Linked DNA regions of Homo sapiens: all the other regions are linked to region 1. Evidence: promoter capture Hi-C in 16 types of primary human blood cells and fetal thymus (Javierre and others, 2016). All regions are on one chromosome and are shown on one strand. The core of a region is centred on a gene start or on the middle of the fragment in contact, and the rest is flanking DNA. Distances in the headings are between cores, read along the strand shown.

What was found. The method cuts DNA at HindIII sites, captures the fragments that hold promoters and counts their contacts. A CHiCAGO score of 5 or more calls a contact.
Region 2: a fragment that was not itself captured here is called in contact with the fragment with the promoter of COXFA4 in region 1 in 7 of 17 cell types (total B cells, non-activated CD4 T cells, monocytes and 4 more); the score reaches 13.8 in total B cells.
Region 3: a contact is called between a fragment that was not itself captured here and the fragment with the promoter of COXFA4 in region 1, in 6 of 17 cell types (non-activated CD4 T cells, total CD8 T cells, naive B cells and 3 more). The highest score is 12.2, in non-activated CD4 T cells.
Region 4: a fragment that was not itself captured here is called in contact with the fragment with the promoter of COXFA4 in region 1 in 1 of 17 cell types (non-activated CD4 T cells); the score reaches 5.5 in non-activated CD4 T cells.

Annotation. Positions count from the first base shown.
Region 1 is chr7:10,938,619-10,941,718 of GRCh38, forward strand. It overlaps COXFA4 (cytochrome c oxidase associated subunit FA4), which reads right to left and starts at 1,535. Exons shown (of 4, transcript NM_002489.4): 1 at 1,398-1,535; 2 at 190-278. The coding sequence starts at 1,439. LOC107986767 (a long non-coding RNA gene) reads left to right here and starts at 1,638. Exons shown (of 3, transcript XR_001745091.3): 1 at 1,638-2,113. RefSeq lists enhancers at 1,518-1,787, 1,672-2,592 and a silencer at 1,818-2,067. The HindIII fragment of the contact is 7,174 bases long and covers 1-3,100 here.
Region 2 is chr7:12,214,889-12,217,919 of GRCh38, forward strand. It overlaps TMEM106B (transmembrane protein 106B), which reads left to right. Exons shown (of 8, transcript NM_001134232.2): 2 at 1-139. Among named protein-coding and RNA genes, the nearest start is that of TMEM106B, 5.1 kb to the left of the region's middle. The HindIII fragment of the contact is 1,747 bases long and covers 667-2,413 here.
Region 3 is chr7:12,257,795-12,260,615 of GRCh38, forward strand. No RefSeq gene overlaps it. Among named protein-coding and RNA genes, the nearest start is that of TMEM106B, 48 kb to the left of the region's middle. The HindIII fragment of the contact is 1,349 bases long and covers 777-2,125 here.
Region 4 is chr7:12,694,156-12,697,339 of GRCh38, forward strand. No RefSeq gene overlaps it. Among named protein-coding and RNA genes, the nearest start is that of ARL4A, 8.1 kb to the left of the region's middle. The HindIII fragment of the contact is 468 bases long and covers 1,547-2,014 here.

The DNA.
Region 1 (3,100 bases), core at 285-2,784:
TCAGAGAAATTAGATAATTTCATGAACCAAAAAAAGTAAATGAAAACAGCAGATTTGAGATCTGAACTTATTGTATGACTGTAAATGTAACATTCTTTCTACTACCCTAATGTTATCGCCCTACAGAGACTGTGGCTCCTAAACTGCCTTGATCAGCTATCAAAGTTTTAAACATTTTTAAGTACTTACCAAACATCTGGATTGAACAATGCCAGACGCAAGAGATACAGTGTTGCTCCAGTAGCTCCAGTTCCAATAAATACAAAGAGGGGGATCAACTAAACCAAACACAAAATAGAATAACCATCTTCAAATACTTAAAACACTGGCCAACGAGAGATTACAGTAGTTTCTGCACATTGATTTCCAAGTCTCAAACTGTTATTGGACTGTTTTGTCTTAAAATTTAAATAAAGTAGATCTTACATTGAGGTAAGATTTCTTATAACTGTGTTCTAAAGAAAGAAATGGAATTTGGAAAGGATGTTAAGATGACTCTGGTTTAAGTGTCTTACTTTTTAATGTGGAGCAAATTATAGGTACATTTTTAAATTTCCAAGAAAATGTATCGAGTCTTCTTCACCTCTCTAATATTTACATGTCATTCCCATTAAATTTTCTGGCTTCCTTTATCCTGGGGCTTGAAAAACAAATTCTTTGCAAATTATTTAAGGGTGCCTCTATAAAGATGTATGAAAAATAGAATCTGAATAAGTAAACGTATCTATTACAAATACTGGCTTTAAGCATTATCTCTGAAAACGTAATGCTACCAATGCTTGCTGCGTATTTAGGGAACCGGATTTAAGACAGATTAAAGATTGCATAGACTTTTAGCTCTACAGCACATTGATGTGCTGAGGAAAAATGAGATGCCAAAGAACTTAACTGCAATTTCCACACTTCGAAATTTTCCCAAAAGCAACGACGTCCAGACAAAGTGAGGATTCCAAGATCACGGACCCCTCTTATTTACCAAAAGGCCTGGTGGTGCAATGCGGCGAATACAAGAACCTCCAGAGATGGTATAACACATAGGGAACCTGACCTATGCTAGTCTCTGACCCACACAGCGCACATCTATCCCTCCTGGACCGCACAACCTGCAAAAGAGAGCGGCCACCAGACTGTTCCAATATTCACTAACTAGAAAAAACTAGGTTTTTTTTCCGAGCAGTGTCCGTCTCCTTCCTCCTGTCAGACAAAACCCCACAATGCATGGCGTAGAGGGTCACAGAGGCCTGGGACAACTAAGATGACAAACACTAGGCGAGGCAGGGTCTGGTCTGACGGACGGTAAGTGGCTGTAAATGAGGACGTTCCCAGGGAACAGAAAGAGGCGCACCCCGACGCAAGAAGGACAAGGGAAAACATTAGGAGAGCGGTCACGAACTTACGCTCGGATGCTTCTTGGCCTGACCGATGATCTGGCGGAGCATGTTTGCGGCAGAGGTCTCCGACTGGAAAGGAGAGAACCGACCTAGCCACCAGGCCCTAAGCTAAAAATTATCTGCAATGAGACACTACGGACTTCCAAAGTCACCCAGGACCTCCTACCTGAAGGACCCTTGGCTGGGAGGGCAGCTTGCGGCAGGAGGGCCCGGATGCGACTGTCTTTAATAGTGCCTGCTTAGATCTAACCCCTCATATGTTCGTCCTGACCTGGTCGGACCATCATCATTCCACTTCATAGTGAAATGCCTTCATTGCCGTGCCATGCATATTTCTGAGGGGAATTTTTTTGGTCGAAACGAGGACTCTTCGATTGACCAGACAGGCACTTTCCAAGGGTGCCACGTACTGAGGAATGCGGTCGGAGCGTGGGCGCACGGGCCGCGCGCTCCGTGAGTAGGGGGCCTCTCCCGCGGCGCCTGAGAGCCGGGTCCGCGCGCAGAGGCCCTGGGGGCGCGCGTGCCGGGTGCGCGCTGGCCAGCTGTGACTGCCGCTGAGGGAGCTGCGCGGCGCCTCTGGGAGCCGAGCGCCGGGCGCCTGGAGGGCAGGTCGGGCCTCTTGCCGCTAAGGTCAGCGGCTGCGGTTTGAGAAGACTGCAGCTGCTTCCTGTGTTACGCTGTCGCAGACAAGCAGAAGTTAAAAACTAGTAAATGACTTAAAGGTGATAATAGTCCTGGCAGTGTATTTCTGAACCCTCAGATCCTGGCCCTCGGTTGAAAGTTCGTCGCCACAAAGACCTTTCCAACACGCCACTATCCCCCGTCCCTGGTCCCAAATTGCATCTTTAAAATGTGTTTTCAATGGTCGTGTAGCTACAGATAATCTTTCCCACTACCCCAGTCGAATTTTCATTTGTCTTTTGTTTTGTTTTCTTCGTTGTTTTTTTTACCCGAAGGACTTCCATAGGACAGGCTTTGCGGGGGAGGGTGGGGGGATTGGGATAAAATGTACACTCTGAACCCTCTCCAATCTCATACGTAGCTTAAAGCATTAATCAAATGATCAAGCAAGTATTAATAATTGGGACTAGAAATCATAGGAGAAGGCTCCACCGGAAGTTACACTAGCTCTGAAGGAGGAGCGGACATTAACCAGGTGAAAACGGAGGATGCAGGTGTACAGGGCGGAGGTAATAACACGTGAAGGTCTGAAGCTATTGAAAACCCGAGGGAGCTGTATGAGGTCTAGTGTGGCTGGAAAGTAAAAGGGAGAGCAAGGTGGGGATCAGATCTGCTGGGCCAATAACCGCTTAAACATCATGGGTTTTATGTTGAGAGCTTGGGAAGGTTGTGTTTTTAAATGATTGCTTTGTGAATAATTGATTAGAAGGGATAAGCGTGAGAGGGGAAAGACCTATCAAGGGGCCATTGCAATAGTCCATAATCTGTGTGACAGATAATGGTAGCTTGAACTAGTGTAGAGAATGTAATGATGAGAAAAAAAGATTCCAGAGATGTTTAGAAGGTGGCACCAACAGGACTTGGTGGTTGGCTCTCCAGGAGTGAGGAGAGAGAAGTTAAGAATAATTTCAGAGGTTCAGTTTTGAGCAGCTCTGTGGTTGTTGATGCCAGTTATTGAAATAAGCCGTAGAGAATGATGTATAAGTGCCTATGTAAAATTCAAGTGGATCTCTATGGGGCAGAAGAGA
Region 2 (3,031 bases), core at 290-2,789, 1.3 Mb after region 1:
AGGAATGGACTGGTTAATAGTGAAGTCCATAATGAAGATGGAAGAAATGGAGATGTCTCTCAGTTTCCATATGTGGAATTTACAGGAAGAGATAGTGTCACCTGCCCTACTTGTCAGGGAACAGGAAGAATTCCTAGGGGTATGTGTTATTGTATTGTTTTCCCTTTAAATGATTTTAGGTATTTGCTCAAGTATTATAAAAACTGTGGGTCTCAGGAACCACCTGTTTTAGAGGACTCTTAGAATTAAAGTTGAAACATCATATCAGTTACCTTCAGTCAAAAAGATGCAAAAGAAACAAATAAAGTATTAATTAAGGTTCCTAAAGCAGTAAAGAAAACCACCTCACTACCTCCAGTATTTTTTCATTCCCACCTGCTATTATAGCAGATATTCACTGTCTTGTAAATGAAAACTTTTAGTCCTATTTGGCATCTGTAGAGATGACATCATAGTTACTTGCTACTTTGCTATATCAGATGTTAGAAGCAATTTAAGTAATTTGTTGACCTATTTTTTTTTTTTTTTTAAGAGATGAGATCTCGCAATTGTTGGCCAGGCTGGTCTTGAACTCCTGTCCTCAAGCAATCCTCCCACCTCGGCTTCCCAGAGTGCTAGGATTATAGCAGTAAGCCACCATGCCCAGCCAGAGTTAATGTGTAAGGAAGCTTATTCTTTCATGTTATTTTTAAAATTTTATTTTTTTAATAATAAGGATGGAGTTTCCCCATGTTTCCCAGGATGATGTCGAATTCTTGGGCTCAAGCGATCATCCAGCCTTGGCCTCCCAAAGTGTTAGAATTACAGCTGTGAGCCACCACGCCTGGCCAACCTAATATTTTTAATTCATTATCTAAAGAAGAAGAATAAGCTGGCTGTGCCCTAATGAGTTAAAGAAACTCTGTGAAGAGGGATGGTACGTGAAAATGAGCCAAATTGAAAAAAAAAAATTGTTTGTGATATATCATAGGGGACGTCAGAAGGAAATAATCCCCTGTGTGCTGCTTGTAAGCTACTTTAGGAACAGTGGCAATAAGTAGAAATAATAAAGATACTTTATGCTGTTCTCATTATCTTCTTGGTGAAAGTTGATGTGTGACCCTGGAGATACCCAGAGGGAAGAAGGTCAAAGTATAAAGTATACTTTGTGTACCTTTTTAAGATGCTTAAAATGTATCTTAAAATGCTGTGGGTTTGAATTGAAGTTTACATTTGCGTTGGCCTTTGAGTATGATGGTTTTATTTTCACAAGGATAGTAGCTATTTAAGAATAAAATAATTATTGTAGTTGAAGGGATTAATGCACCAGGCTCAGGGGGTAGGGGAGTACTGTTTTAGCAGTCTGGTTACATTTTTGAGGTATGACCAGTAAACTTTTTTGGCCGCCTGGATACAGATTATGGAAAGTAGGAAATCAAGGATGACTCCAGAGTTTTTTTGGGGGGGTTTGTTTGAGCAACTGAAAGAATGTAGTAGCAATTTATTAAAATTGAAAAAAAAAAGATTATTTGAGTGTATATGTCACAGGAGAGTTCAGGAGCTCAAGTTTAGACATGGATATTTGGAGATGCCTATTTGACGTGGAAGTGGATATGTTCATTAGGCAGTTAGTTATCATAAGGGTCAGGAATTCAATTGCAGCGCCCAGCCTCAAGTTACCAATGTATAGATGACACTTAAAGCTCAGCTGGATGACAGCAGCAAGCTAGTCAGTGCAGATGGCAAAAATGAGACCCTAGCGAATCCTGAGACACTGTAGCATATCAAGGTCAGTGAAAGAATTAACAAAGGACCCTGAGAAAGAAAAGTTAGAATGAGAGGAGGAAATCATTGTGTGTGGTATCATGGAAGATAAGTGAAGAAAGTGTACCAAGGAGGAAAGAGTGACCAACTGTCATATGCTACTGATAGATTGGGTAGTGTGAAGACTGAGAACTGGCCATTGGATTTGGTTATATGGAGGCCACAGAAGAGTTTAAAAGAGCGGTTTTGGTAAAGACGTGTAGCATGTATAGAGTGGGCTCAAGAGTGCATAGGAGATGTTACATAGAGAGAAAATAGATTTTCTGAGGGGTTTGGCTCCATAGCAGAGAGAAGAGAGGTAGTCATTAGAAGGGGCTGTGAGGTCAGGAGAGGGATTTTTTTTTTTCTTTGTAAGATAGAGTGAATAATAGACAGTTGTATACTGATGAGAATTATCTGTAGAGAAAACATTGGTAATTCGGGAGATAAGAGAATTATTGGAGCAATGTTCTTGAATAGACAGAAGGGCAGATCTACTGCACAAGAACAAAGAGCTGCTCTTTTTTTCTATAAAAGGTAAGTTATAAGCACAGGTGGTTTATTCTTGGTAATAAAAGAGAAGGTAAAGTATGGACACAGAAGCAGGTAGGTGGATAGATCTGATAATAGAAGCTTGTAGAAATTATCTTCCATTTATCACATAATGAACTAAGAATGAGGATAGCGAAGAAGATATTAAAGATTTGAAGAGAGTTGAAGTTATAAAATTGTGGTCTTGGAGAGTCAGCTTGAGAGTATGAACTTGGGAAATGTAGTATGATTGTTGACATCATTAAGTGCTACTTGACATGAGTGATCAAAAATGAAACCAGTGAGTGTAGTTGTGTGTTTTTCTGTGTCCATGTTTAGCTCTGTTGATATATGCATAGGAGCCAGAGGGTTGGTTTTAACCAGGGTTGTAGTTTTAGCCAGATGAATACCACTAAACAAGGTGAGATATGTAAACACACAAAGATACAGATATCCATGTTATATGTATTTGTATAATTATATATGGGTGTGATGGGGGAGCACAGATGAGAGGAAGAGTATAGATGTGTCGGGGGAAATAACAGAAGCATTTTAGAAAGCTTTTAAAGAGAACTTGACTATCTGATACCTTAATAGTTAATATGATAAGCCAACTTCTAATAAGATTATAAAATTGGCATTTAAAGGTCCATTTATCCTTTAAACTTATGGATATAGCTCAACCCAAGAAAGAAATCACGGATTTTGAAGTGACTTT
Region 3 (2,821 bases), core at 201-2,700, 1.3 Mb after region 1:
GTGTTTTGTTCCAACTACTCTGGGCTTAAATGAGGCCAAATGTGGCTGGAAGTGAAAGTGAAAATGATGAAGGAAGAGAGATATGAGTCAAGGGTGTGTGCACTGGAGAGGTTATAATTGGTAAATTTAAGCTGGGTTAGGAGGGAGAAGTGTTACAGAGTGAATATATCCTGCCGCAACTCATTTGTTGAAGCTCTAACCCCCAGTGCAATGGAATTTAGAGGTAAGGCCTAAGGGAGATAATTAGAGCTAGATGGGGTCATGTAAGTGGGTCCCTCATGATGAGATTAGTGGCCTTATAAATAGAGTATGAGAGAGACCTCTCCTCTCTTTACCCAAAAAAAAAAAAAAAACAAAAAAAAAAAAAAAAAATATCAGTGCACCCAGAAAAGATCTTTGCACTGAGGAAAGATCACATGAGGACACAGCAAGAAGGCAGCTGCCTGCAATCCAAGAGACAGCTGTCACCAAAACCTGAATTGGCTGGCACTCTTGATCTTGGACTTCCCAGCCACTGGGACCATGAGAAAATACATTTCTGTTATTTAAGCCACCACACTTCGTTATGGCAGCTTGAGCAGACTAGTAACGAAGGAGACGGAACAACAAGAAGGTAAGGGTCAGTAAAAACAGATTCGTGAAAAAGGTGATGTTGAAATTTTTGTGATGAGGAGACTAGATAATGAGATTATAGTTGGGGAGGATACCAGGTACTGACAATGTCAAGGTCTAGGATGTGACCATGAGACTGAGTGGTTGAATTAGGGTGGAAGACAAGCTTTGGGGAAGAGGGGAGTTCAAGAAACAGAGGCGCCCACATTTAAAAGGACTATTCATGTTCTCATCAAAACCTGAAATAAAGAAGAGAATGACAGTGAGTCAGGGGCTAACAGTTATAGTGACTGATGTAACTGATGATACTTTCAAAGATGCAAGTTTCAAAGAGAAGAGGTAATAATGTGCTAGAAATGACAACAGTAGATACCTTTTGCTGAATGCCTTCTAATACAAGTTAAGCACTCTGTAGACATTGTGTCTGTTCATTCACAAATAACATCACCATTCACACCATTCATCACCATTCATAAATAAAGAATCTGAAGTTCAGAGAGGTTAATTAACTTTCCTAAGGTCACACAACTAGTAAGTGGATGTACTATGGTTTCAGAACCAATCAGTTTGAATCTAAAGGCCCCATGATGGATAAGCTGCTTATTTTAAAGTTTTTTTTCCTTAATAGTTTTTACATATCCAGAAGCAAAAGCAAGAAAACATTTTTCAACAGTTTCATCTCCTCAAAAATAAACAGAAACTAGAGCTAGAGCTAAAAGCCTATTTCTTTCTTCTTGTTATTCAAACCACACTCACTTCATACTACCTCATACACTTCAGTCTGTGATATGATACATAGTAGGTCTTCCAGACTTTAAAGTTTAATGTTCCACCTTTGTGATTTTTGTCATTTCTACTTACTTCCTAAACCCAAATTCTACCTGATTTAGCTTTCTCCTAGGGAATGATATCTATCATACCACAGTTTAGTGGGGAAATAATATTATTTTAAAATGCAGTGAAATATATAACTAGTAAAGTATACTTGTGTACAGAGAAAAATCAAGTTCTATCTCACTGGTAGCAAGCATATCAAATTTGGGGAAATTCAGGGATGGAGGCTATGGCATCGGGCTAGAAGTCAAAAGGCTAGAGTTCCGGACTAGCTCTTCCACTTATGGAGCTGTGCACTTGCAAAATATGCAGACTTTCAAAGCCTCTGGTCTCTGGAATGGATTTAGCACAATCTTGGCACATTGTATATTTTTCAATAAATATTAGCAAATATATCAATAATTTTCATGTCACCCACTGGTTACTTATAATCCCTCAAATATTTTGCCTCTTCTTTGTATCTCTGGAAGGAGATGAAATAGCCTTTCAACTACAGGTTTTCTAAAAGCTGGGTGTGCACTGTTTCTGCTATGCTACAAGAAGGTGAAACCATATAACTCAAAAGAAAGAGACAATCCTAAGAAAAATGAGTTAATTTCATAAACCTGAGTTGTAATTCTCAGATGCAGAATATTAAAAAGCCAACACTTTCTGTAAGAGCTTTCAGGACTCCAGGGGAAGCTTGATCTGTCTAATAAACTATAATGATAATAACCAAGCATACCTCACAGGGGTACTAAGCTTTAATGACTCAATACTCGTGGAACCTTTTGAGCACCTCCAATGTTATGTAAGCATAAATGAATAAGTAGGGACATTATATACCATTGTTATTTCTGCATTAAATTTATCTTGATAATTTCTTACAATATCTTATAAGGCAGGCACTGTATGAGACTAATACATGAACAAAGATATGAAAGAAATATAATATATAGTAGTGCTTTCCAATGAAATAATTATACTCTTATATTAGTGAAAGAGAATGGGGTCATTAATTGTACCTCTAAAAAGTCATTCCTCGATTGTAAAGAAGGCAAATGAGAATCTGGAATAGACACTTAAGATATAAATGTCTATAAAGAGTTTGAAAAAACACTTGCTATTTTTTTTTCCTATGGAAGAGACATCTAAGTTTTTAGATGCATTTTTTACACTGAAGAAATTTTAATGATTCTTTCACTGTTTAAGTTATAACTTCATAAAAATTTCATACATTTTTATATATCTTTCATCTTGCCTTTCTATCCTCTCCTCCATAGCATCTCTGTGCTATGATAGTACTTTAATGTCCTAGTTTAACAATAAATCCTCGCAACCCTATATATGTTTGTCATATTTTCCAAAACACACAACTGTAATTGTTATACTGTCC
Region 4 (3,184 bases), core at 531-3,030, 1.8 Mb after region 1:
ATTTCCTGTCCCAGATCTGTTTTTCTAGGATGCCAGGTTCCTTGTATTAGGAAATGGTATTTAGAGTCCACAGTCTATTACTGGATTTGTCATTGTTTCTAGGCCTTTTCAGTGGATAGTACTAGAACTCTATTTTTTTAAGATTAGATACATTATTAATTCACAGTGATAGTTCCAATTCAAAGATTTACATTCAGAATGATAAGGCATTTATTTAGTTTCAGTGATATTATTATCTCTTTTCACTCATGCCAAAAATATTAGTTATGAGCAACACACAGTTGTTTATTTGCTTTATTCCACTTTAATCTCAATGCAATACTACTGTCAATAATTTGATGACTGGTAGTGGTTTAAGAATGTTGTAGTTACCTTTGTCCTTTAGGTATATCTCACTGGAGGTAAATTCTTGTATTTTAAGGTCACTTGGAATTGTTATTTTATGTGGGATTATGTTTTAGATATATTTGTTTCACAAAATCTCTTACTTGCTTTGTAGACATGTTGAGTCTGGTTTATTTAATATATACAGTTCTTCAAGTATATTTAAAAATACTGAATTTGGGACAAAAAATTTTACACACAATACTTTAGGAACCTCTCTTTTAAAATTGATGTACATGAATATTTTCCACAATCATGAGGAATTTTTTCTAGGCAATATTTTTCTTCTCAGTTCAAGCAGTAGAATTGTTTTGTGAAAATTTAAGTAATTTACATGGAAGACATCTGATATATAACAGCCCTCTGATTGAAAAAGAACTCTTCCTGTTGCAGCTCTTTGTAATGTCAACGAGAATCTGAATATTTGTTTTATGGGGTTTTTTCTTTGTTCCTTTTTAGTGCAGAAACTGAATAACTAAACAGCAGGGGATTAGAAATTGTGGGCATCCAGTGGGCTGTTGTATTTCTTAAGTATTCAGATGAAAAGTGCTTGTTTCCCTTAATCTGTCATCTACCTGAAGATACCCAGAAATGGGTGAGTGACAAAATGGAGTTCCCTAGAATGACATTTTTCTAAACTGGCTATACTTCAGAATGACTTAAGGAGCTCTTGAGATTCCTACACTTCACTTCAGACATTTTGAATGGAATCTTTAGGAAATGGGTCCAGTAATTTATATTCCACCTCTTTGTAGGATGTTTTTTAAACACACCTAGATCAGCCAGATTTAGAAACCATTGTTTTGGAACTTAAAAATTGTGGGCTGGGGATGCCAGAGGGATAATACTTTTAGTGGCAGGAATAAAGGGATCATAAATAGAACTGGCCTAGTGAAACTTTACCTGTCTTAGACCCTTTTCTTCTACATAGTGGAATGTTTTTCATTGGCTTGACATTTATGTCATAATAACCAAACAGAATGCTGTCTGATCCAGGGATGTCTCAGATCAGATGGCTTAGGAGAAATCTGAGCAACCCCAGGGAAAGGCAATATGGAATAGACACTTTTCCTTTTACTAATTTTATATATATTGTATGCTTAATAGGTGATATCTTAGAAATTTACAAATAGTCCTGCCCATCTCACAAGAGACCAGTTAAAGCTTTAGAGATGAAGTACTATTAATAAGTAGTGCCTACAGTGTTGTTTTTTCTGTAACCCTTTTGAGAACTTTGAATGTCACGGGTTTCAATGATGATAGCCAATTATTTTGAGGACTAGCAGATATGGTAAGGAAAAATCAAAGACCTATCACAGTAGGAATACTTGAAGAAAACGGGCAGATCCAAATGGCTTATAACCAATAGGCTAAACCCAAGATGCATTTGATTCATCAAATAAGTAAAACACGTTCAGTCTATTCTATAAAGAAAGATGGTCTTTCTTGCTTGATCAATCTGTCAGCAGCTCTCATGTTAGAAACTGGGTGTTTATGTTAAATTATACAGGTAGAGTATTGACATGTATTAGCTGTGTAACTGAATGCAAGTTACTTAATTTCTCTTAGCTACAGCCTTCTCACCTTTAAATGGCAACATTATCTCTCTTACAAGGTTATTTATGAAGGAAGCTTTATGAGTCATCTGGCATGATTTCTAGCAAGTAGACCAAACATTCACTCAGGTATATGAACAACTGCCTCATGCTGCCAGGTGTTTAGAATATAGCAATCACCAAAACAGAAGGGTAGTTTGTCTCTTTCCTACTCTAGAAAGTAAGCTCCACAGGGACGGGGCATTTATCCATTGCCATATCCCTAGCTCTTATAAACCACACAGCACATACTAAACACTCACATATGTGCATAGTTAACAAATAAATGAAGCTTAATTCTAAAGGGATATCAGACAAAAGTTAATAAAATAGGCCGGGCGTGGTGGCTCACGCCTGTAATCCCAACACTTTGGGAGGCCGAGGTGGGTGGATCACGAGGTCAGGAGATCAAGACCATCCTGGCTAACACGGTGAAACCACATCTCTACTAAAAATATACACACAAAAAATTAGCCGGGCATGGTGGCACGCGCCTGTGGTCCCAGCTACTCAGGAGGCTGAGGCAGGAGAATGGCATGAACCCAGGAGGTAGAGGTTGCAGTTAGTAAAATAAAAAATGTGAAAAGTGCTATGAAGGAAACAGAGGGCTAAGGATGAGAAAACAATAGGGGTGACTTTCACTGGATAAAGTGGTTGGAGATTTTTCTGATTTATCTAAAGAGCTATGAGAAGAGTAGAAGAAAGAGCATCTCAGGCAGAGGGAACTTTATTTGCAAGGGCCCTGAGATGGAAAATCACTGAACCGAGTAGACTAAGTATGCTTAGAACTGGTGAGCAATCGACAGAATGGCAGGATATGAAGTTGCAAAATCAGAATAGAGCATTTACCTGTCTGACAATTGTATTTTTAATGATAGTTTGCTTTTACTTGGTCTTTATATATTTAATTACAAATTACTGATATTTTGTTTAAATCTACCACATTTTTCCATTTGACTGTTTATTTTTATGTCCTTTCTTTCTTTTAGATTAAGTCTTTTTTCTTCTCACCCCCTCACCCCTCCCCCCTGGTTATACATTCTTTTACTATTCTTTTTGTTATTCCATAGTTGCAGCATACATCTTTTTTTTTTTTTTTTTTGGAGTCTCGCACTGTCACCCCGGGCTGGAGTGCAGTGGCGTGATCTCGGCTCGCTGCAACGTCTGCCTCCCGGGTTCGAGCGATTCTCCTGCCTCAGCCTCCC